2 separate regions of the Homo sapiens genome follow, and region 2 is linked to region 1. The links are contacts of gene promoters, found by promoter capture Hi-C in human tissues and cell types (Jung and others, 2019). All regions are on one chromosome and are shown on one strand. Each heading gives the region's core, a stretch centred on a gene start or on the middle of the fragment in contact. The rest is flanking DNA. Distances are from core to core; before and after follow the strand shown. Region 1 holds the start of PYCR2 (pyrroline-5-carboxylate reductase 2). Region 2 overlaps SDE2 (spliceosome associated SDE2).

Region 1 (3,639 bases), core at 467-2,966:
TATGCATAGGACATGATAGTGTAAGGAAATACACCAAAAATGTTTGTAAGAAACTATCTTTGGGAAGTATGATGTGGATGATTTTATTTTTACTTTTATCTCCAAACTTTCTTCAATATGTCTGTATTACTTTTCGAATTTAAAAAATACAGAGGCCAGGTGCTGTGGCTCACGCCTGTAATCCCAGCACTTTGGGAGGCTGAGACAGGCAGATCACCTCAGGTCGGGAGTTCAAGATCAGCCTGACCAACATGGAGAAACCCTGTCTCTACTAAAAATACAAAAAATTAGCCGGGCGTGGTGGCGCATGCCTGTAATCCCAGCTACTCAGGAGGCTGAAGCAGGAGAATCGCTTGAACCCGGGAGGTGGAGGTTGCAGTGAGCCGAGATCGTGCCATTGCACTCCAGCCTGGGCAACAAGAGCGAAACTCTGTCTCAATAAATAAATAAATAAATAAATAAATAAAACATAGCATTATTTTGCTTAATAGTAAATATTATATTTGGTCCTCACTTTAAAGGGTGCACAAACTGAGGGCCTGGGGACTTGCTCAGGGAAGTTCACAGAAAGCAGCCCCTTGCCTGGGAGTGGGGGTGTGCATTACACGGAAAGGACTAGAAAAGCTAGCAGAGAGACCATGGGAACTAAGGGTCCTCAGCTCTTCTGAGTCCTCTAGGAACGCCACCTTCTTCCTCTCTACTTCTGTCATTTGTTCCCTGCGGCCCCTTATATTTACTACTGATAGAAAAGGAAACATCACATTGGTGGAGCTTTTAAAAGCAAGAGACAGGTCGGGCGCGGTGGCTCACGCTTATAATCCCAGCACTTTGGGAGGCCGAGGCGGGCGGATAACCTGATGTCAGGAGTTGAAGACCAGCCTGAACAACATGGTGAAACCCCGTCTCTACTAAAAATACAAAAATTATCCGGTCGTGGTAGCGGGCGCCTGTAATCCCAGCTACTGGGGAGGCTGAGGCAGGAGAATCGCTTGAACCCGGGAGGCGGAGATTGCAGTGAGCCGAGATCGTGCCACTGCACTCCATCCTGGGCAACAAGAGTGAAACTCCGTCTCAAAAAAAAAAAGGCAAGTGACAGCAAGGGGCTGGGGGGTGCGGGATCGCGGAAGAGTCGGAGACTCGAACTTGTCCTTCTTGTATCTAGTTTGGACAAATTCGCGAGAAACACTCAAGTTCAAGTGAATAAGCCGCGGCTGACCACCCTGGTGCCGCCTCGCCGCCACCTGGTCTGAACCTCGCCGCCACCTGGTCTGAACCTACGCCAGGAGGGCCTCGTTCATCCCCGCAAATCGGCAACCTGGAGAATTCCTGTGGGCCTTGAGGGGCATCTGATGGCCAGCGCCAGAAATAATATTAGCCAGGCCTGGGCCAGGCCTCAGCCCTGAGCCCGAGGTGGCTTAGGGACGGCGACCTCAGCCTTGGGGTGGGGGGGGGGGGTGGGGGCGGCCGGGCGTCCTGGGCCGGCGGGCGCCTGGAGCTCACGCCAAGCTGCCACAGGGGCTTCCGGGACTCCAGCCCGGAGTTCCGCCCTCCAGTCGCGAGCGGAGGAGGCGGGCACGCGGCCTGGCTCGGGCCGCGGATTGGCCTGCCCCGAGATCCTGGCCACTGATTGGTCGCCCGGACGGGGCGGGGCCACGTGGCCTAAGGCGCCATCAGCCGCCCGGGAGATATCCGCCGGGGGAGAATAGGGTTGCACCATCCCAGAAGCTGCTGTTAGCTCGCCGGTCCTCGGCACGCCGCCCGTTCGCCCCTGCGCTGTCCGCCCTTCCCCTAGCGTTACTTCCGGTCCCTCGCTGAGGGGGTTCGTGCGGCTCCCAGGAGGCGTGAACCGCGGACCATGAGCGTGGGCTTCATCGGGGCCGGCCAGCTGGCCTATGCTCTGGCGCGGGGCTTCACGGCCGCAGGCAAGCGCGTGGAGGCGGGAGGCGGCTTCGCGGGCGGTCCCGAGGCCCGAGGGGGCCTCCGTCCCACCAGCATGAGCGAATGAAAGGGGAGTTTGCGTCCGGTGGGGTAGATGAGACTCTGGTTGAGCAGCAAGTGCGTCTTCTGTCCTCGTAGAGGGTTGAGGGGGAGAGGGAGACTGGCACTGTTAGGACGGCTCTGGGTTTTAGAGCCAGGGAAAGCGTGGTAACGGGCTGGGCCGCGACCCCTAGTTGAAAAGCTCTGTCTTCTGCAGGCATCCTGTCGGCTCACAAGATAATAGCCAGCTCCCCAGAAATGAACCTGCCCACGGTGTCCGCGCTCAGGGTAGGTGGAGCCGGGCGGAGTGGGAAGCGGGTGGAGGCCCAGGAAAAGGATGACCTGAGATGAAGTGAGTCTGGCCGGCCCCTGCGCCCAAGTGCTGGTCTTTGGCCGGCGGTGACCTTTACTCCAGGAACGTGACAATCTTTCCACCTTCTCTTGGGCAGCTCAATGTGGTGGGAACACCCAGGGAGACATAACTGGGGGTCAGATCCAGACACTGGAGTGGTAGAGGATTAACTGAGGTGATTATGTGATGAAAGCACCTGGCACATAGTAGGTACCTAATAAATACTCATTTTTTAAATTTTTTTTCAGACAGGGTCTTACTCTGTCGCCCAAGCTGGAGTGCAGTGGCGCGATCTCAGCTCACTGTAACCTCCGCCTCCCACCTCAGCCTCCCACCTCAGCCTCCCGAGTAGCTGGAATTACAGGCATCCACCACGCGCAGCTAATTTTTGTATTTTTGGTAGAGAATACTGTTGGCCAGGCTGGTCTCGAACTCCTGGCCTCAAGTGATCTGCCCGCCTTGGCCTCCCAAAGTGCTGGGATTACAGGGGTGAGCCACTGCGCTCAGCCATTTTTCTTAATAGACGAGTTGTATGACCTTAAAGTACTCAGCCACTTTGAGGCTATTTCCTCATTTACAACAGTGGCCACTTTGCTGTTATTCTGAGTCGTGAATGAGCATATTGGGAAGAATCTGGTGAGTTAGTTGTTCTGTTCTCCAAAAACATATTCCAAGTCTTCACCCAAAACCTGTGCTCTGTGGGAGAGGATGGCTGATGAGGCAGGTGACAGGCAGTGTCTGTGCCTAGGGTGGGCTGATGTCCCTAGCACTGGAGGGTCCTGCTTCTCAGTTTGGAGTCATAGAGGGATGGATGGCTTCCAGCCTAGCCCTGGACCACATGGAGACTGTGCGGTCCCCACGAACAAGCGGCCAGGGTTAGGATAGGGCCTGACTCAGCTGTGCTTTTAACGACCAGGTATTAGCATTTCCCTTTGCCCTGCCACTTTCACCATAGGGCCTTCTTACCTGGCAGAGGAGTGCCTTAGATACCAGAAGATTGGCAGGGAAGAAGGGCAGCCACTTCCTGGTTACCATGGAGAAGCTTGTCATGCTCCAAGCCTGTGCTTACTTGTCCAGTAGCAACAATGGGAAACTGTATTATTTGGGGTAGGGGTAGAACCCTGAGGGCATAAAGCTAAGAATTCCAGGCTGCATCTGGCAGAATCGGTTTGGCAGGGGTTCAGCTGCTCCCTGGGAGGCCTTGGCATAGCCAGGCTGCTCCAGCACTGTGAGCTGGGAGTCTCCTCTTGCAGAAGATGGGTGTGAACCTGACACGCAGCAACAAGGAGACGGTGAAGCACAGCGACGTC
Region 2 (3,639 bases), core at 852-3,351, 70 kb before region 1:
GTCTGGGAGAACCCCAGACAGCATAAATCCATCTCTCCACCTGTTCTGCCCTGGCATCTGGGCAGTGACTGTGATAGAGAACTATAATCACATAGCTCAGTCTCCATACATCCACCAGCCTGGTGCTGCTTGGTAATTCTGTATTTCCTTGGTCCAGAGTGGGCTTTTACTGGGTTACAGGACTGCTTAGAGTATTGATTCATGTAGGCTCTGGGGCAGCTACACAGAATCTGGGGCTGCCCAGCATCTTAGGCTATCTTCAGCAACTTTGCTCATTTTTGCTCATTTTTCATGTATTTATGTCTCCTATGGTGTACTTATATAGGTGTATTAAAAACCACACTCTTGACTCCTTCCTTCTCTACTTCTTATTCCTACCTGCACTTTTTAGGATTGAGGACTACTTTTGATGTTCAATTTAATTTTACCTGTTTAAGAAAGTCAGAAAATGGGACCTCCACAGTTATTTAATCTGAGTCCTGCATAGTCTTCTACCTTGACTCAGATTACCTATCAGAGAAGAAGAAGCAGTTTTTGTTGTCACCGCAAAGACTGAAGTTTCTTCTATATGTGATGATTAGGTAATATTGGGAAAAAATTATACCCAAAATGCATCATGTGAAATGACTTTTTCTCCTAGTAGTTTACATTTTCAATTCAACAAATATTAATTGAACACCCTCTGTTGTAACCAGAGTAATAAAAAGACAGCTAGGTCCCTTCTTGTAACAAACTTAGATTATTATCTCATAAAAGGCATTAAAAAAACAAATTTGTCTCTAGAATGTTCCAGTGGAAAACTTCTTTGTGAAATGCAATGGAGCACTCATTAACACCAGTGACACAGTGCAGCATGGAGCTGTTTATAGTTTGGAACCCAGACTTTGCGGTGGAAAAGGAGGTAGGACCTGAACATTGACTACTTAGTTGTAACACATTTGCAGTCTTTATTCATTTATTTTCATATTCTGCTGCTGACATTTGCTGTCTTTAGCCATGGTATTAAATTAACAACCTTCTTAGTCTCTTTAGTATGCCAATATTGTTTTACCTTATGAATTCTTTTATTTACTTAACCTGATTTTGGACATTTTCTCTCTTATTCTTTTGTTTTCTTTCTTTTGAGACACTGCCTTGTTTTGTCGCCCAGGCTGGAGTACAGTGGTACGATCACGGCTCACTGCAGCTTTGACCTCCTGAACTCAAGCAATACTCCCACCTCAGTTTCCCCAGTAGCTGGGACTATAGGCACATGCCACCATGCGCAGCTAATTTTTGTATTTTTTGTAGAGATGGGGTTTCGCCATGTTGCCCAGGCTGTCTTTTATTTTGGTCGAGGAAGAAATATTGTGTGATACAATTCCCACTTTGTTCAGCTGGATAGCTCTTAGGGAACCTAGGCTCTAAAACTTTGGGGGAAAATTAGATGAAGAGAGATGGCCATTATTCTGTTCAATTTGCTGAATAAAGAGTTTTTTTTCTAAATCTCCTTCTGCTTTAATCAGGATTTTGTCTCGTTTTTGTAGTTCCAAAGGAAGTCTAAAGTTACCTTAGGAAACACAATTGTTTATAAGTTGAGGCAGATTAAGGTTTTGTTTGTTTAACACAACTACTAGGAAAGATAACAAAGAGCGAAAACAATATAAACAGTTGTTGGTATTTCTCCTAATGTAGTAACATGTGATCCCTAAGCTTTCTCAAAATCTACAGTGATTTGGTTTGGTTTTCAGAGAGCTGACATCTCAGACTATATCCAGCTGTTTGAAATTGTATGATTAAGAATGAAGCGTGGGCTGGGCACGGTGGCTCACGCCTGTAATCCCAGCACTTTGGGAGGCCAAGGCGGGCGGATCACCTAGGTCAGGAGTTCGAGACCAGGCTAGCCAACATGGCAAAACCCCGTCTCTACTAGAGATATAAAAATTAGCCAGGTGTGGTGTTAGGAGCCTGTAATCTCAGCTACTTGGGAGGCTGAGGCAGGAGAATCACTTGAACCTTGGAGGTGGAGGCTGCAGTGAGCCGAGATTGTGCCACTGCACTACAGCCTGGGCGACACAGTGAGACTCTCTCAAAAAAAAAAAAAAAGAATGAAGCATGTGGCCAGGCATGGTGGCTCATGCCTGTAATCCCAACACTTTGAGAGTCCAAGGTGGGAGGACAGTTTGAACCCAGGAGTTTGAGACTAGCCTGGGCAAGATGGTGAGACCTTGGTCTCTACAAAAAAAAAAAAATAGCTAGCTGCATCGGTACACGCCTGTAATCCTAGCAACTTGGGAGGCTGTGGTAAGAGGATCCATTGAGCCCAGGAGTTCAAGGCTGCAGTGAGCTTTGATTACATCAAGCCATTGCCCTCTAGCCTGGATGACAGAGCAAGGCCCCATCTCTTAGGGGGGATAAAAAGAATGAATGAATGAAGCATGTTATATCAGCCAGTGGAGCTTAAAATTGCCTTTCCTTCTAAACTCATTGAAAAATCTCACTATATACTTTTTAAGTTCTTAATCTGAGAATCTTGGGATCTCTGTGATTGTGTAAAGCTTCTTTTTTTTTTTTTTGAGACAGAGCCTGGCTCTGTTTCCCAGGCTGGAGTGCAGTGGCACGAGCTCAGCTCACTGCAAGCTCTGCCTCCTGGGTTCACGCCATTCTCCTGCCTCAGCCTCCTGAGTAGCTGGGACTACAGGCGCCCGCCACCACGCCTGGCTAATTTTTTGTATTTTTTAGTAGAGACGGGGTTTCACTGTGTTAGCCAGGATGGTCTTGATCTCCTGACCTCATGATCTGCCCGCCTCAGCCTCCCAAAGTGCTGGGATTACAGGCGTGAGCCACTGCACCTGGCCTGGGTAAAGCTTTTTAAATATTCTAGCTGTACAGGTATTATACCGGTATGCAAATAACTAACACAAGGATAAATAATTAGGTTTGGGAAGGCTAGGTATTTTATCTCAGAACTATAAAATGAAAGGTGAAAGGCATGAGGTTAAATCAGTCTTTTTACTTTCGCTGCCTGAATTAGAACCTTGATGTTCATCTTTTCTTAAAAAAAAAAAAAAAGAAAGAAAGTAGAGATCATTGTTAATCTTGTGATACAGATTGTTTTCACAAATTCTGCTTTTATCCATCCTTGAACACATTTTAACCTGCTTTCTCCAAATACATCTGCTCAGGTTTTGGATCTATGCTCCGAGCACTTGGTGCTCAGATTGAGAAGACAACCAATCGAGAAGCTTGTCGGGATCTCAGTGGAAGGAGACTACGCGATGTCAATCATGAAAAAGCGTAAGATGCCCACCTTTTTTTGTGTTTTTGAGGAGAGACATATACTTTCCTATTAGTAGTGATTATACATATGCCACGCATATTGGAAATGGAAACTTAAAATATTTACATCCAAATTTATTATCAGATTTAACCTTTTCCATAATTTAATAATCATCTTTGGGATTAAGTTCAGTACCATATGCTAGTAGTAAGCATGGCTCACCTTTCTAAGAGAATATCACAGTATGAACAAGTGCATTAATTCGTCAGAGACATTTTATATATAAAAGTGTATATGTAATATATCTATTCAGTTATATCTCTTCCTCCCTCATCCCCAGAATGGCTGAATGGGTAAAACAACAAGCCGAGCGAGAGGCT

What was found. The method cuts DNA at HindIII sites, captures the fragments that hold promoters and counts their contacts. A contact is called where the count stands out against the background at its distance.
Region 2: a contact is called between a fragment that was not itself captured here and the fragment with the promoter of PYCR2 in region 1, in 6 of the 25 tissues and cell types used here (H1 embryonic stem cells, aorta, heart left ventricle and 3 more).

What each region holds. Positions count from the first base shown.
Region 1 is chr1:225,922,327-225,925,965 of GRCh38, reverse strand. PYCR2 (pyrroline-5-carboxylate reductase 2) reads left to right here and starts at 1,716. Exons shown (of 7, transcript NM_013328.4): 1 at 1,716-1,922; 2 at 2,195-2,265; 3 at 3,583-3,639. The coding sequence starts at 1,856. RefSeq lists silencers at 1,370-1,449, 1,590-1,679, 1,990-2,119 and an enhancer at 1,170-1,819. The HindIII fragment of the contact is 28,660 bases long and covers 1-3,639 here.
Region 2 is chr1:225,992,528-225,996,166 of GRCh38, reverse strand. It overlaps SDE2 (spliceosome associated SDE2), which reads left to right. Exons shown (of 7, transcript NM_152608.4): 2 at 784-901; 3 at 3,165-3,276; 4 at 3,600-3,639. Among named protein-coding and RNA genes, the nearest start is that of SDE2, 5.0 kb to the left of the region's middle. The HindIII fragment of the contact is 4,719 bases long and covers 1-3,639 here.